Regions from separate parts of the Homo sapiens genome. Here regions 1 and 3 are each linked to region 2. Evidence: promoter capture Hi-C in human tissues and cell types (Jung and others, 2019). All regions are on one chromosome and are shown on one strand. The core of a region is centred on a gene start or on the middle of the fragment in contact, and the rest is flanking DNA. Distances in the headings are between cores, read along the strand shown. Region 1 has its middle 44 kb from the start of GLI2. Region 2 holds the start of GLI2 (GLI family zinc finger 2). Region 3 overlaps GLI2 (GLI family zinc finger 2).

Evidence for each region. The method cuts DNA at HindIII sites, captures the fragments that hold promoters and counts their contacts. A contact is called where the count stands out against the background at its distance.
Region 1: a fragment that was not itself captured here is called in contact with the fragment with the promoter of GLI2 in region 2 in 1 of the 25 tissues and cell types used here (small bowel).
Region 3: a fragment that was not itself captured here is called in contact with the fragment with the promoter of GLI2 in region 2 in 2 of the 25 tissues and cell types used here (IMR-90 fibroblasts and mesenchymal stem cells).

The regions. Positions count from the first base shown.
Region 1 is chr2:120,689,645-120,694,400 of GRCh38, forward strand. No RefSeq gene overlaps it. Among named protein-coding and RNA genes, the nearest start is that of GLI2, 44 kb to the right of the region's middle. The HindIII fragment of the contact is 6,383 bases long and covers 1-4,756 here.
Region 2 is chr2:120,733,773-120,738,119 of GRCh38, forward strand. GLI2 (GLI family zinc finger 2) reads left to right here and starts at 2,096. Exons shown (of 14, transcript NM_001374353.1): 1 at 2,096-2,513. LOC124906073 (a long non-coding RNA gene) reads left to right here. Exons shown (of 3, transcript XR_007087219.1): 3 at 270-1,078. LOC124907881 (a long non-coding RNA gene) reads right to left here and starts at 3,889. Exons shown (of 2, transcript XR_007087221.1): 1 at 2,789-3,889. RefSeq lists enhancers at 725-1,372, 2,012-2,181, 3,300-3,800, 3,801-4,301. The HindIII fragment of the contact is 8,822 bases long and covers 1-4,347 here.
Region 3 is chr2:120,783,786-120,788,369 of GRCh38, forward strand. The region is part of intron 1 of GLI2 (GLI family zinc finger 2); the gene reads left to right. Among named protein-coding and RNA genes, the nearest start is that of GLI2, 50 kb to the left of the region's middle. RefSeq lists enhancers at 1-457, 2,302-3,224, 4,147-4,584 and a silencer at 1,988-2,282. The HindIII fragment of the contact is 4,739 bases long and covers 268-4,584 here.

The sequences.
Region 1 (4,756 bases), core at 1,674-4,173, 43 kb before region 2:
CATCAGTAAAAAGTCCTGGGTAGAGCCACAGCTTCACGTATAGCTGGATCTGAGTGTACGGGTGCTGTCTGGCACCAGCTCAGATTCTCTCCACCTCTGCCTCTGCTTTTCTCTGAGATGCCTTTGGTGTCAGGCAGACTGTTTTCATGAGGGATGAAGAGGGCCCACAGCATCTCCTGGTTGACACCCCAGCAGCTCAGCAACCCCAGCAGAAAGAAAGCCGCTCCTCCCTAGAGTTCCAGAAAGAGGAAGAGATGTACCAGGAAGCTGAAATAATTGAGGTCCCCCCTGCAGATTTTAAAAAGCAGAAACATAAGTCAATTTCCACTGGAAGCTGGACACATTGATAGTTAAGAAACCCTGCAAACAAATGTGTATTTTTGGTCATGTAAACATAAGTGAGTTAGGAGCCGGGTGCGGTGGTGCACACCTGTAGTCCCAGCTACATGGGAGGCTGAGGGGGGAGGATCTCTTGAGCCCAGGAGTTCCAGGCAAGTCTGGACAACACAATGAGACCCTGTCTCAAAAAAGAAAAAGAAAAAAAACCCTAAGTGACCACAAGACTGGCTGTCCGTGAGAGCGGCTCACTAAGCTCATTTCACTACAGGGTAAGTGCTATGATGGAAATGACGCCAAGGAACTTCACTTACAGTCATCTGAAATGTCAGTCCCTCTTCAGACATTGCCAGCCATTTGGGTTTCCATTTTGGTTGAGGCCACAAAACAAGAGTTATGACCTGGTAAAGGTGAGGTGCAAGAACCCCACGAGGACTTGCAAAGAACGCATATTCAAAAAGCGGTTTAGCGGGAAGTGGAGGTCAGGGAGGAGGGGACGGGGGTTTCCTTGGAAAACGTCACTGGGGTGCTGGCAGCTCTTCTTTTTACCAGAAGTCAAAAACAAGGGATGTTCAGGTGACGACTGGAGAGCTGCAGTTTGGGCACAGTAGGCAGACGTCTGAGTGACACCTGAGGAACAGGAAGGATGAGAGAGGCTGCTGGCTGCTCTGTCATGGGGAGTTCCGCGGCACTCAGAGCATACTGGGACGAAAGAGGTTGATGTGGGTTCCTCATAGCTCCTGCCTCAGAAGGCCTCCTGCAGAGGCTAGAGGACATCACCCGGGGAAGACAGACACATGGCTGGACGCCTGGGGGCTACGGAGAGAGTTGTAAGCAATGAGCCAGAGAGCAGCGTTAGAATGGTCAAGGGAAGTTGGAGCTAGAGAGCCGCTGTACCGAAATGCCAGATTCCACCACCTGCCAGCCCAAGTGCCCAACCAACATCGGATCAGCGTGTCAGAATCCCTCCCCCCGGCCCTGCCCCACACACCTCTCCTCCCTCCACCCTCACCCCAGAGCACAGGAGTGACAAGGTGGCGGACAAAGGCAAGGGGATCCTGGAGGAAGGAGAGAAGCAGCTCCACTCCCACCCACCTCCAGGAGGCCAGTGTGTCAGGCTGGGGATGGAGAAGCATGCCTATTAATGAAAGTTTTACTCATTACACTGAACGGAACACATTTATGCAGAACTGGGTCTGTCTTGTATGACTTAAGGGAACCAGAGTACTTTTTATTACCTAAGGGTGATAAGAAAAGTCATGGGGAAATGCCCTGAAATTCACAAAGGGCTAGGCAAAGAATTGGCCCCCAGCGTGGATTTGGAGTCAAGGGGAGACAAAAATTGCATAGCATTATCATTACACTGCTATGATTACATATATTCCATGATGGTTACACTGGAAACATGCCACCCCTGCCTGCATGAGGCTCCTTGTCCTAGCAACCATTCCAGTTTATTCCAGGTTTGCAACCCAGGAGCACTTGACTTCTGCCTTGAGTGCCTCCCTCAACTTGCAGACAGCCCACTGGGCCTTCCTCGGCCTGCACCCTTAAGCATGTCAGGAGAGACAGGCAGCTGCTGGGGCATTGCCATTGGAAGCAGCTGCCAGGAAGGGCACCTGTGCGTTTGTGCTTGAAACCTGATCTGTAACAAAAATGGATTCTGTGCACATCTAGTGTGCTCACCCAGCCCGGAGCACAGCAGCCATCTTGGTAGGGACCACAGCAGCCATGTTGGTAGGGACCACAATGTGTTTACTCCGCCAGCCTTCCAAATCAGACACTCATGTTGCCAATGGTAGTAGGAGGGTGCAACCTCTGTGGAAGGCAGCTTGAGGAATTAAATAATGCCTTTGAATCAGCATTTCAACTTGTAGGAATGTATCCCAAGACAAACTCTTATTAATGCACAAAAACCCATGTACAAGACTATTCATCAGAATACAGTTTGTAATAGCAAAACACTCTGGGAGCAGCCTCAATAGCCATCAATAGGGTGCTGGTTGGATAAAATGAGATAACATTTGGTAAATCCACACAATGGAACGCTGCAGTCATAAAGAAGCTTTAGACGCCTCTCTGTGCAAAGCCACAAAACAACCTCCAAGGTGCACTGCTCATTGTAAACGTGCTCCTCTCTGCTGGCCCTTCTGCTGCGCTGGGCCCACCAGCTGAGACAGATCAAAGCGGAGCCCCAATCTGTGGGGGCTTGGGACCTCTTCCCCTCCATGGAGAATTCTTGGCTCCCACCCTGCTTTTGGGAGTCCTAGGAAGCTGGTGGTGATGCTCGGGTTTGTGGGGTTTTTTTGTTGTTTGTTTGTTTGTCGTTGTTGTTGTTTTTTGAGACAGAGTCTCGCTCTGTCGCCCAGGCTGGAGTGCAGTGGTGCAATCTCAGCTCACTGTAACCTCCACCTCCCAGGTTCCAGCAATTCTCCTGCCTCAGCCTCCCAAGTAGCAGGGATTACAGGCGCATGTGCCACCATGCTCGGCTAAGTTTTGTATTTTTGGTAGAGACGGGGTTTCACCACATTGGCCAGGCTGGTCTCAAACTCCTGACCTCAGGTGATCCACTCACCTCAACCTCCCAAAGTGCTGGGATTACAAGTATGAGCCACCGCACCTGGCCTCAGGTTTGTTTTGATGCCTTTTTATGGGGTTCCCAACTGCAGGGATCCCATAGTGGGGCACCCCCTCACCCCTCCTTCTTCTCTGACTGGCCCTCAACTTCCTCCCCACCCCACTCCCAGCTCTAGCACTGACCGGGAAGGGGTGATTGTGTGCAGCCCACCCATCTTAGAGGCTGACTGAGCAGTACAGGCCCACATTTCCCTCCACACCAAGGTCTCAACCTCACAGCGCCCCAAAGCCTTTCTTCCAGCCCTGCTCAGAAGTTAATCACTTAGGCATCTCGCCACAGGCTCTGTGGAGTCATCGAGTTTGAAGTCAGGAAAAATCCCAAAGGTGGCACCTATCAGCTCTCCCAGCAACTCCAGACCTTCTCAGACCCTGGTTTCGGACACTCAGCCAACACCTCTGACTGTGCCTCTGCCCTGGGTCCCACACCCTCTTCCTGGCACCGGCATCCACTCCTGAGTTAATATGCCCATTGCCCAGCTCTGTCTACTAGTGAGGAGCACAGTTAGGTCCCAGTCTTGGATTTTTAAATACCCTTCTCCACTCAAAGAACCAGGCCTCCCTGGAGAAATAGGTGGTTCCAGGTCTGGGCTGGAAGAGACAAGGCAAATCTTGGATGTCTGGTGCCAGAAACAAGGGTGTTATTGAAGACTAATCAGGGCCAGGATAAACAGACATAGGAAGTTGTCTGATGGGTTTCCACTGACTAATGCTGGGGCCATGAGGACATCAGAAACAATACTGATGGAGATGACACATCGATCTGCCTAACATCACCCTAACCAGGGGATGTCACCAGCATCACTGTTAGTCCAACAACCTGGCCTCATGTGCCTCTGAAGCCATGCACCAAGAAGGACCCCACGTTCCCCACATAGGATTTGTGCAGAAAACCTGATTCTAGTCACGAAGGAAAAAGACCCAACAGAGTCAAAGTGAGAGAATGTCTGCGAAACAATTGATCTGCATGCTCTGAAAATGTCAATGACATGAAGATTTCTTTTTTTAAAAAAAGGCTAGAGAATCCTTTTAATTTTTTTTCTTTCCTTTTTTTTTTTTTTTTTTTTTGAGACTGTCTCTCTCCATCACCCAGGTTGGAGTGCAGTGGCACAATCTGGGCTCACTGCAACCACCGCCTCCTAGGTTCAGGTGATTCTCCTGTGTCAGCCTCCCGAGTAGCTGGGACTACAGGTGTGCACCACCATGCCGGCTAATTTTTGTATTTTTAGTAGAGACTGGGTTTCACCATTTTGGTCAGGCTGGTCTCGAACTCCTGGCCTCAGGTGATCCACCCACTTTAGCCTCCCAAAATGCTGAGATTACAGGCATGAGCCACCACGCCCAGCTAAATCCTTCTAAATTAAAAGGGACTAAAGACAAAAAACCATAACCAGCAAATGTAATATGTGATCTTGATCGGATCCCAGCTCAAAAAAAAAAAAAAATCAGCCATCAAAGACATTTAGGCGACAACTCTGAAAATTTGAAAATGGATTCAATATTAGGTATTACTGAACTGTTGGTGACTTTCTTAAGTACAGTAATGGTCTCATGGTTACAGAGGAGAATATCCCTATTCTTAAGAGATGTCTGTTAAAGAGGGTGAAATGTCACCGAGTCAGCAACTTTCAAACTGACCCACACACATAAAAACATGTGTGCATGCGTGTGTGTGTGTATCTACATATATCTGTGTTACATCTATGGAAAAGGTGGAAAGGAACCAAGCATGACAAAATATTAAGAATTGTAGAATCTAAGTGACATAGACCTGTTGTTTCAACTT
Region 2 (4,347 bases), core at 846-3,345:
GTCATTAAAATATGGCCAAGGAGGGGAGGGAGAGTTTACTTTTTCTGTCTCCTTAGAGTCTGTGTTCTGAAAGCTCAGCAGGAATTTAAACAAATAGCACGGAGGAATGGTGAATCTGATCATCTTTAAAGAAAAAGCCCCTTTCAAACTTCTCTTTAAATCATTGGCTTATGCAAGTTTCGCTTTTTAAAAATGCTGCCGACCTTTTCCCCCCAAACAAAATTAGCATCAAATTGTTCTAATATTTTTCTGCATATTTTTTTCTCTAGGTCAAGAAGAAATTGTTGCTCCATCATATAAGTGAATGTCAGGAGGAGGAAGGAGGATCTTAAGGAATGAAGTTCTAATGCATCCTCTTTGATTAAAAAGTAAAAGAATAAAGTTAGCAGAGGATAAAAGGTATATGGAGAGAGCCACCCACAAAAAGGGTTGCACCGGTGAAATGGGCCTGTGTAGGTCACATCCCCTCAGGGAGGGTAGCATTGGGTCCCTTGCATTTCAAATAAAATGCAATTTTAGGAACAGGGGCTGAAGGGAGAGACACTTCCACCCACCTCAACAGGGCAATTTTTTAAAAATTTAATTTAATTAATTTATTTTTTTGAGACAGAGTCTCGCTCCATCACCCAGGCTGGAGTGCAGTGGCGCCATCATGGCTCACTGCAACCTCCATCTCCCAAGGGGTTTGAGAGATTCTCCAGCCTCAGTCTCCCAAGTAGCCGGGATTACAGGCGCGCGCTACTATCCCTGGCTAATTTTTTGTATTTTTAGTAGAGACGGGGTTTCACCATGTTGGCCAGGCTGGTCTTGAACTCCTGACCTCAGGTGATCCCCGTGCCTCGGCCTCCCAAAGTGCTAGGATTACAAGCGTGAGCCACCGCGCCCGGCCCAACAGGGCAAATTTAACTGAACTTACAGTACAACCACCCGAAGCTCTGGGAGGATGGCAGAGTGCTCTGACCTTAGACTAGTTACTTAACTTTTTAAAGCATCAGACTTCCCACCTGTAAAAACACGAGAAGAGAACCTTCCTTACAGAGCTGTGAAAGTCCAATAATACAAAGAAAATATAACATCACCTGGCACTTGGTAGAGTGTTCTACAAACGTTAGGAAGAATAAAACCAGAAATTCCCCCCAAGACCCTCTTCGGGTGAGGCCCAGGGGCCCTGGAGAGGGTGGCAGGCCCGGGGGTGTGGGGAGGACACTTTAGCCAGCTGCCCCCAATTCTCCTCCAAGCCTGGCGGCCCAGTTCCGGGCTGTGGTGTGGCTTGAGGGCCCAGGGCTCCTCACTGAGCTTGCTTAAGCAAGTTCTTTCACACACAGCCCCATATACACTTTGGCTAGAAAATTCAATGAGGAGTTTTTTCTTCCTTCTTTCTCTGTTGTTGTTGGGTTCTGATTACTTCCATCTGGCTTCAGCGGCTCGAGTGGAGTCTCTAAAACACACAACACAACAAAACAAAAACCCACCCTGCAAGCCACATGCACCAAACCTAGAAGGCTGCTTCGTTTCTCGCCAGCGTGTGCTCAGATGGCGACGAGGGCTAGCGGCGGCGGGGGACGCCTCAGGACCCCCGGCACCTGCGCTCGCTGCCCGCGGGAAGAGGGTCCGCGTGGACCCAGCCCCCGCGTCCCTTCTCTGGCGTCCCCGGCTTCCGCGCGGGCGTCCAGAGAAGCGGGCGCCCTGGGAACAGCGACCCAGGCATCTCCCCGAGGAGGGAAGTGGGAGGTGGGGAGGGCGGGGGGATTTCAGAGATTGAAAACAGAGCAGCCCTTGCCCCTCAGCTCCGGAGCTCATCTGACTTGAGTTAGCGACACCCCCAACCCCCCCCCCCACACCTAGTCGTCTAAAAAAAGTGTCGGAGATTGGCGCGTCCTTTGGTTCCTTTCTCGAACTTTCCTTGTAGGTGCGTTTTCTTTCCTTGGTGCTGGGTGGGGAGAGTCCCTGTGCTCCCCCTTTCCCCTCCCCCCGCCCCGGCGGCGTTCGGGTCCCCCTGCGTCCCCCGGCAGGGAGCGGGCGGGCTGGCTGGCGGGTTCTTGGGGCCCGGGTGTGCCCGCACCGTGCGCGCGGGGGCGCTGCGCAGTCCGGCGGCGCTGATGGATTGCAGAAGTGCCGGCGCTTGCCAGCCGAGGCAGCACGGCTCCGCGGACTTTTTTTCAAACTCCCATCAATGAGACTTCGAGGAGGAGCGGGCGGCGGCGGCGGCTGCGACTGCGAACGCGGAGGAAGGCCAGGAGCCGCAGGAGGAGCCGGAGGAAAGAGCTTGGGCCGCGCGGCGCGCCGCAGCCTCGGGGAGCCGCCTGCTCGCCGGCGGTAGGGGCTGCGCGGCGCCCGCCCGCCTCTCGGTCCCCTCTCTTGCCTGGCCCGCCCCGCCCCGGCTGGCTGGAGCCCCGGCACAAGGCAGCCAGCCGAGGGTCGCCGCGCCAGCCAAGGTGGGATGGGGGCCCACAGCCACCGCCCGGCGCCCGAGAGGCCACCTGCGTGCTAGAGGCAAACTTTTGTCTCTCTCGGTAAAGTTGCATTGGCCTTCTTTTGCTTGCTTTTCGTGACGAAGCGCCTCCCACCTCGGCCAAGCGCGGGCCGACTGGGATGCTGCGCCGTCTCGGGGGGTCCCTCGGCCGGGTACCGGCGCCTAGGCCTTGGGATCGGGGCCCTGGGCTTCGGGGGACTAGAGGCTAGTAGGCGCGACCCCGCCTGGGGCTCTGGACGAGCAGGGCGGGGACGTAAGGAGAGTCCTGGGGCTTGGAGCTCGTGGCCAGAGGTCGATGTTGCACCCTCTCCCTACCTGGGGGAGAGCACCACTCTTCTCGGGGTGCACAGCGAGCCGGCCTCCGCGCGCCGGCGGGGGTCTGTTTTTTCAGGGGGTGGAGGGTGGGATCGGAGGCTGGGATGCTCCGAAGCTGCCGTAGGTGGGCATGGGAGCGTGTCTGCGGGCGTACTGAGCGCGGAGGGGCTGCAGCCAGCCACTTGAGAACTTCGAACTCCACTTCTCCGCGCTGCGCGTCCCGGAGCCCTGCCTTTCTTTCTTCCTTCCTCAATCCTTCCTCCCCCTCGCCCGGCCCGGCCGCCCCCTCCCCCTCTGCTGGGCTCTCCTCCTCGGCCCCCCCTCTTTGCCTCTCTTCTCCTCCTCTCCTGCCCTCGGCCCTGAGATCCGCTTGACTTCCCAAAGGGATCCGCACGTAATCCTTTGCCGGGTCCTCCGGTTCCCCCTTCCACCTCACTTTCATCCCTGCCCCCCTACTCATCGTCTCTCCCCACCCCCGACAATCTCTCAACAAGTATATTTGCTGAGGAATTTGAAAAATCCACTACTGCAACTTGATCTGTATGTGATGGATGGGGAGAGGCGCGGAGAGAGTTGGGCGCCAATCCTATTAAGGGTTTAGAGAGGGGAGTCTTTTCCCCGGACGGGGCGGGGGCGGGGAGCTGGGAGGGAGCGTGTGCTTGCGTGTGTGAGTGTGAGCGCGCCCGCCGCGCTGGAGAGCTGGGAGTCCACCCAGCTCGGCGCCTTTTCAGCCCGGCGGTAACTGCTGTCATTTCCTAGGAAACCCGACTTTTACCGCGCGGGGAGCTGGGGATGGAGCCCGTGCGCCTCACCCTGGGTGATCGGTCGCTGAGGCTCTCGGGGACCTCGAGCCCCCCCGAGGGTGCCTCTTTCCACTACCTTCTCTTTTGTGTAATTGTTCTGTGGCTCCTAGAGTTGATCCCAGCTGGAAAAGTAGACCTGTCCCTACTGTCTGGTCCCGCGCCCTGGGAGTCTTGTAGGCGTCCCTCTGTCCCCCAGCCCGGGCATCCCGCTCGGTGCGCGACCTCTGGCACGGGCTTTGCAGCTCGGTGGCCGCAGCGGTGTCCCGGGCCCCCTCTCCGCCGCTCTTGCCGGGCGTGTGAAGGTTTAATCCCGACAGCTTCAGATAAAGGGAGCAGTTGTAAAACGCTCATAGGCTGTTTGCAGACGAGGCTCTGGGGGATGTAGGAGAATTTGAAAGTAAACGTTTCCCTCGCAAGCAGCATAAAATAGTGTTTAAACAAATATTGTATTGGCATGCTCAGGGGGCTCGGTGCCAAAAAGTAAAGTAAATAAACTGTGAAATCCAAAATATACAGCGGGGAAAGCGGAGGAATAGGCGGGTTTGTCACAGGCCTCCCTGATGAGACCAGTTTGTTCCAGCCACCTCACCTGCCAGCTTTCTCTCCGCCCATTTCCTTACCTTGCTGGGAGTTCCCTTGGCTGGGTTTCCCTGTGTCTGGGGACAGGCCCTCCCTGGGGCCTGGGAACGGCTTTGCAGTTGCTTGTTTAGGGGGAAGCTCACGGTGTGGCTACCTGGGCCTGACTCCACAGGGACG
Region 3 (4,584 bases), core at 1,387-3,886, 51 kb after region 2:
TTTTTATATGAAAACCACTTAAAGTCTGATCTTATTCCAGGGCAGTTTGCATTTCAATCGGTTGCTCTTGAAAACTAGCAAGCTTCAAAGAAGTGACTGTCCAGTGGTAGAATTTCAGGTGGGGAGTCAGAGTGATTTTTGTTTAGCCAATGAGATCTGACTGGCACCTTCCAAGATACCAGCGACGAGCTAGGCTGCGGCTTCGGCTTCGTGTGAGGCTCTCTGGGGTCAGTTAAACATCCCGTTACCAGCTGTCTACTGGGTGGCAGCCACTGGGGGACATGGTGTGCGGGGGCAATCCAGGAGACAGCTGACTTTAGAACACTGGGTTCACTCTGATGGCCCTCACTCATGGCATGCTTACTGGATGCCAACTGTGTGCCAGGGGCCTGGGAATGAAAGTCAAATATCTGAGCCATCCAGTGGAACAGGCAGTGAAGCACACTGTAGAAGCTTCACCCAGTGCTGTGCTGTGGGTCTCCCAGGCTAATAAGGGGCCATGTGGGAGCACCAGGCCCTTGCCTGGGGCAGGAGGGCTGGGACACGTGTGCTGGGTGGAAGAGATCCCAGCCTTAGCTCTTAGGAGTTCATCAGACAGGTGTTTTTTGAAGGGGAAGGGCATGAATGCAAAGGCCTGACAGGCAGTGTCTGGGGGTTGCAGGCTTCTAGAAATAACATAAAGGGCGAGTCCTGAGTTGGTGGCAAGTGAGGCTGAGGGGGCAGGGAGGGCACAGGCCTTGGGGGTTTTGGGGGCCCAGATAAGGAGTTTGAATGTCATTCTGCAGACAGTGGGGAGTCCCGAGGGGTAAGCACACCCTTCCAGTCTGCCGGACACTTGACTTCCAGGACTCAGAGCTACAGGCTTCCATGCTTGCCCTGCCTCCTGCTCGCCCCCCAGACACAGCCTCCATCTGCTGTGGTCCTCTCTGCTTTAGCAGGCCTTTCTGGACCGGAACTGTTCTTCCTTTGAAAATGCTCACTCATCCCTGCCTCCAGGAAACCTTCCTTGACTCCCTCAGGTTAGCAAGACTGGTAGCCCCCCAGAGCTTATCCCTGCTAGGAGGCTTATTCTGGGTTGGCACGGCCTGTTTCCTCTGATGCCGGTCTCCCCACCCCACACCTGGACTGGAAGCTCTGGGGCGGTAGTACTGTGTTTCCCTCACTTCTGTGGTCAAGGATGGAGACTCAAGATTGGCACACAGTAGGCCCTCAGGAAACCTGTGCCACCCAAATAAAGAACGTCGAGCTTGTCTCAAGTCACGGAGCTGGTCAAACCCTCCTGGCCTCCTTGAGCCGGCGCATGTCCAGGCTGCAGCAGACCACATTATTGGATCCGGGTCCCAGACACCTGGCCTGGGCTGCGATGAGGTGGCTGCCAGGAGGGAGGGAGGGTGGCTGAGGGCATGTGGCCTCCTGGGCATGCAGAGGAAGGCCAGGGCCTGGGAGAGACTGGACCAGGCAGGAGCGAGGCTTATCCAGGGCCGGCTTAGCACGTGAGCTACCTCCTACCTCATCATGAAGATCCCAGCTGAAGGCAGGGCACTCCTGTTGGCTTCATTGCAAGGAAAAAGTGGTGTTCTACTGGCCAGGGTGGTGCTGGCTGTTGGTTGCTGGCAGACTTGGAGGAAAGCCGGTGGCTGAGGCTGGCAGAGGCACAGACAGAAGGGCTGGGTGCAGGCATCACCTGGGAGGTGTGGGGAGGGCTGCAGCTGGGCAAGTTGGAGCAGGAGACCAAACCAGGAGATGCCAGGGCCACACACCAGCCCGGTTCTCCCTGGAGCCTCGAGAAGCAGAGCTACCACCCTGGATCTGCAGTCAGCACTCCCACCCCTGCCCTGCCCCTGCCCCAAGCCCAGCACCACCCATGGAGAGGGTGACCTCAGGCCTTGGAGATTGCTGGCTCGTGGCTGCAGGTGGCTTGGATCCATGCACTTGGATCCTGGTATGCTCCCCTCACATGTCAAAATTCCTGTCTCCATCCAATCATGGCATAACACTGTACTCCCTGGGGGTCCAGCCTGCCTATCTCACACCCAGAGTTGCACTGCCAGTCTGGGCTGGGATAGCGATGTGGTTAACTGCAACCAACTGCTGTGGTTATAAACCAGGTAAGGGGCCCAGTGACAGCCCCGCTGCATCATTGGCAAAGGACTGCTTGGGGGCTGAGCTGCCCGGGGGCTGGATGAGATGACCCCTGGAGGCCTTTCTGGGTGCCAGACTCTGTCATAAGAGGGAGAAGACAGAGGGGTTAGAAACACGTGGTCTGGGCTTGGGGTGGCTCCTGGCAAGGCAGCCTCACAATCCCAGGATCCGTAAGAGGACAAACTCAGAGGAATCAAAACGCAGCTCTCCCCACCACCCTGGACGGGTCTCAGCGAGTGTCAGAGCCCATCGCCAGGTTCTGAGGAGCAGTGTGATGGGCCAATGGGAGGCTCCTCTCCCTGTAGCTTGCCCAGAGTCCTGCCAACCAGACAGGGTCCCAGGTCAGCCCAGCTCCTTTCTCAAGACTTTGAGACTTGGTGTCGGTTGGATCACATTGTTTGAAGAGGTGAGATTTGTCCTTGATCTGCAGACATCTCCCACCACCGCCATCATCCCTGCTGTTTGGGTCCTAATTGGAAGAGCCTGGAAAGGCCACCTGCACCATTCCCCTGACCCCAAAATACCACCCCCACCCTCCAACCCCCCGCCCAACCTGCAATTCCACTGAGAAAATAGCTCTTTTGAGTGTGTCAGTGCTCAAAAAGCGCTTTTAAGAGATAAACACTTTTTTATTCATCTTGAAAATGGTTGTGCTTAGAGCTCAGCAGGTACCCAGTTAATATGTATAGGCTTCAGTGCTAAGTACTATGCATGGCAAATCTTTTGCTCTCAAGGGGTTTACAATGTAAGGGAAGGAAGGCATTCTTATGCAGTGCTGGCAAACACTGCCCATGGCAGACAGTACAAGTTGACTAGTGTGCCTCCTGCAGCAGACATTAGAAGTCGATTACTGCACTTTTCCTGACCTAAGAGATAGCCTGATGCCTTCTCCAACCCAGCCCTCCCTTAAAGGTGCCTGTGGGTCTCAGGGTCTAGAAGCTGCTCACCACGTGGACTTTGTGGGGCATTGAAGCCTGAGGGGATGCTCGGAGAAGAAGAGGATTCTTGAAGACTTGAGTGCCTGAGAGCATTTATGTGTTCAGTTCGTCTCTGAGTCAGTCAACAAACATTGATGGTGTCTGTGTCGAGGGTGGCCATAAAGGGACACGGACACGTAAACATGTAGTTAAAACACAATGAGATAGGAGCCTTGACCTTGGCAGGCACACAGGCAAGACAGACCCCTGCCTGGCCTGGCAGGGGGTGGTCCCAGGGAGGCTTCTCTGAGGGGGTGTCATAGTGGGTATTGGGGAACTAGCATTCCAGGCAGAGGAACCGCGTGATCAGAGTCACAGACAGCATGACTGCGGTGGAATGGGGGTGGGGCAGGGAACCTGGGGGTGCAGATCCTGAGGCAGGGCCTTGGGGCCATGACAGCGACTTGGACCTTGTCCTGTGCGCACTCACTGCCTTCATGGTCCTTCGTCCCCTCTCAGAGTCTCCTGCAAGGATTTTCCACCCTCAGTGGCCCTTGGTCCTTGCCCCCACCCCCAACTCCCTGCCTTCTCAGTCTTGGATTAAGGGGGCCTTGGCATGGGTCTGGGTGCCTGTGGCTCCCGTGTGCCAGGCTACTGGGGTCTGTTTCTGATGTCTGCTGCCACCCTGGGCCCCTGAGAGGCCTTCACCCCAGCCCTCAGCCTGCCCGGGGCAGTGTGATTTTCCCTCCTCAGGGCAGAGGCCAGCCTTGTTTTTCCTCCACACTCAGGAATCGCGCTTCAGGAATACACAAAGCAGCTGTTAAAATATCTGGGTCTGGCGGGCCGGCCACACAGTGGGCCCCTTGTTCCCCTTGCAGACAGCGGCCTCAGAGCACGTCCCAACCCTCTGCTGGGTCAGCGGTGCTGGGGGAGTGGTGTCAGGGAGAGACCCTGGACCTCTAGGCTTCAGGGCTCTCCAGGGAGGAAGGTGATGGACAATAGGAATTTAGAACCGAGTGGAACAAGCACATTACAAACAGATGCCAACCCGAGAGTTTAGATGTCAGACTGTAGAGGCGCTGGCACCAGGGTGGGTGGAGGAGGATGCCTGGATGGGACTGTCGTGTCAATTCTTGGACAGAGCCTTCTGTTGGTGGGGCAGCCTCCAGGCACTGCTCAGGGGCAGGCCTTCTCCAGCTGCAGGGATGATAAGGCCAGGCCTGTGTGTGCCAGGCCCCATGTGAGACATTCTGTTTATCCCCACTTAACAGATGAGGAAACTGAGGCTTAGGGAGAAGTTGATTCTTGTCGACAGTTCCTGACAGAGCTGGGAGGTGAACATGGCCATTCCTTCTCCAGAGTCTGCACTCACTGGCCTCCAGCTGAATGTGACAACCACTGACGTGTGCACAGGTGGTGTCAAAGTTCAGTCACAGCACAAAGAGGTTGGTGAGCTCTGTCTAGGACTCTGGGAAGGAGGGTGTGAGAGCAAGCTTTCTGGATTTTAAAGCATGGCATCCTCGGT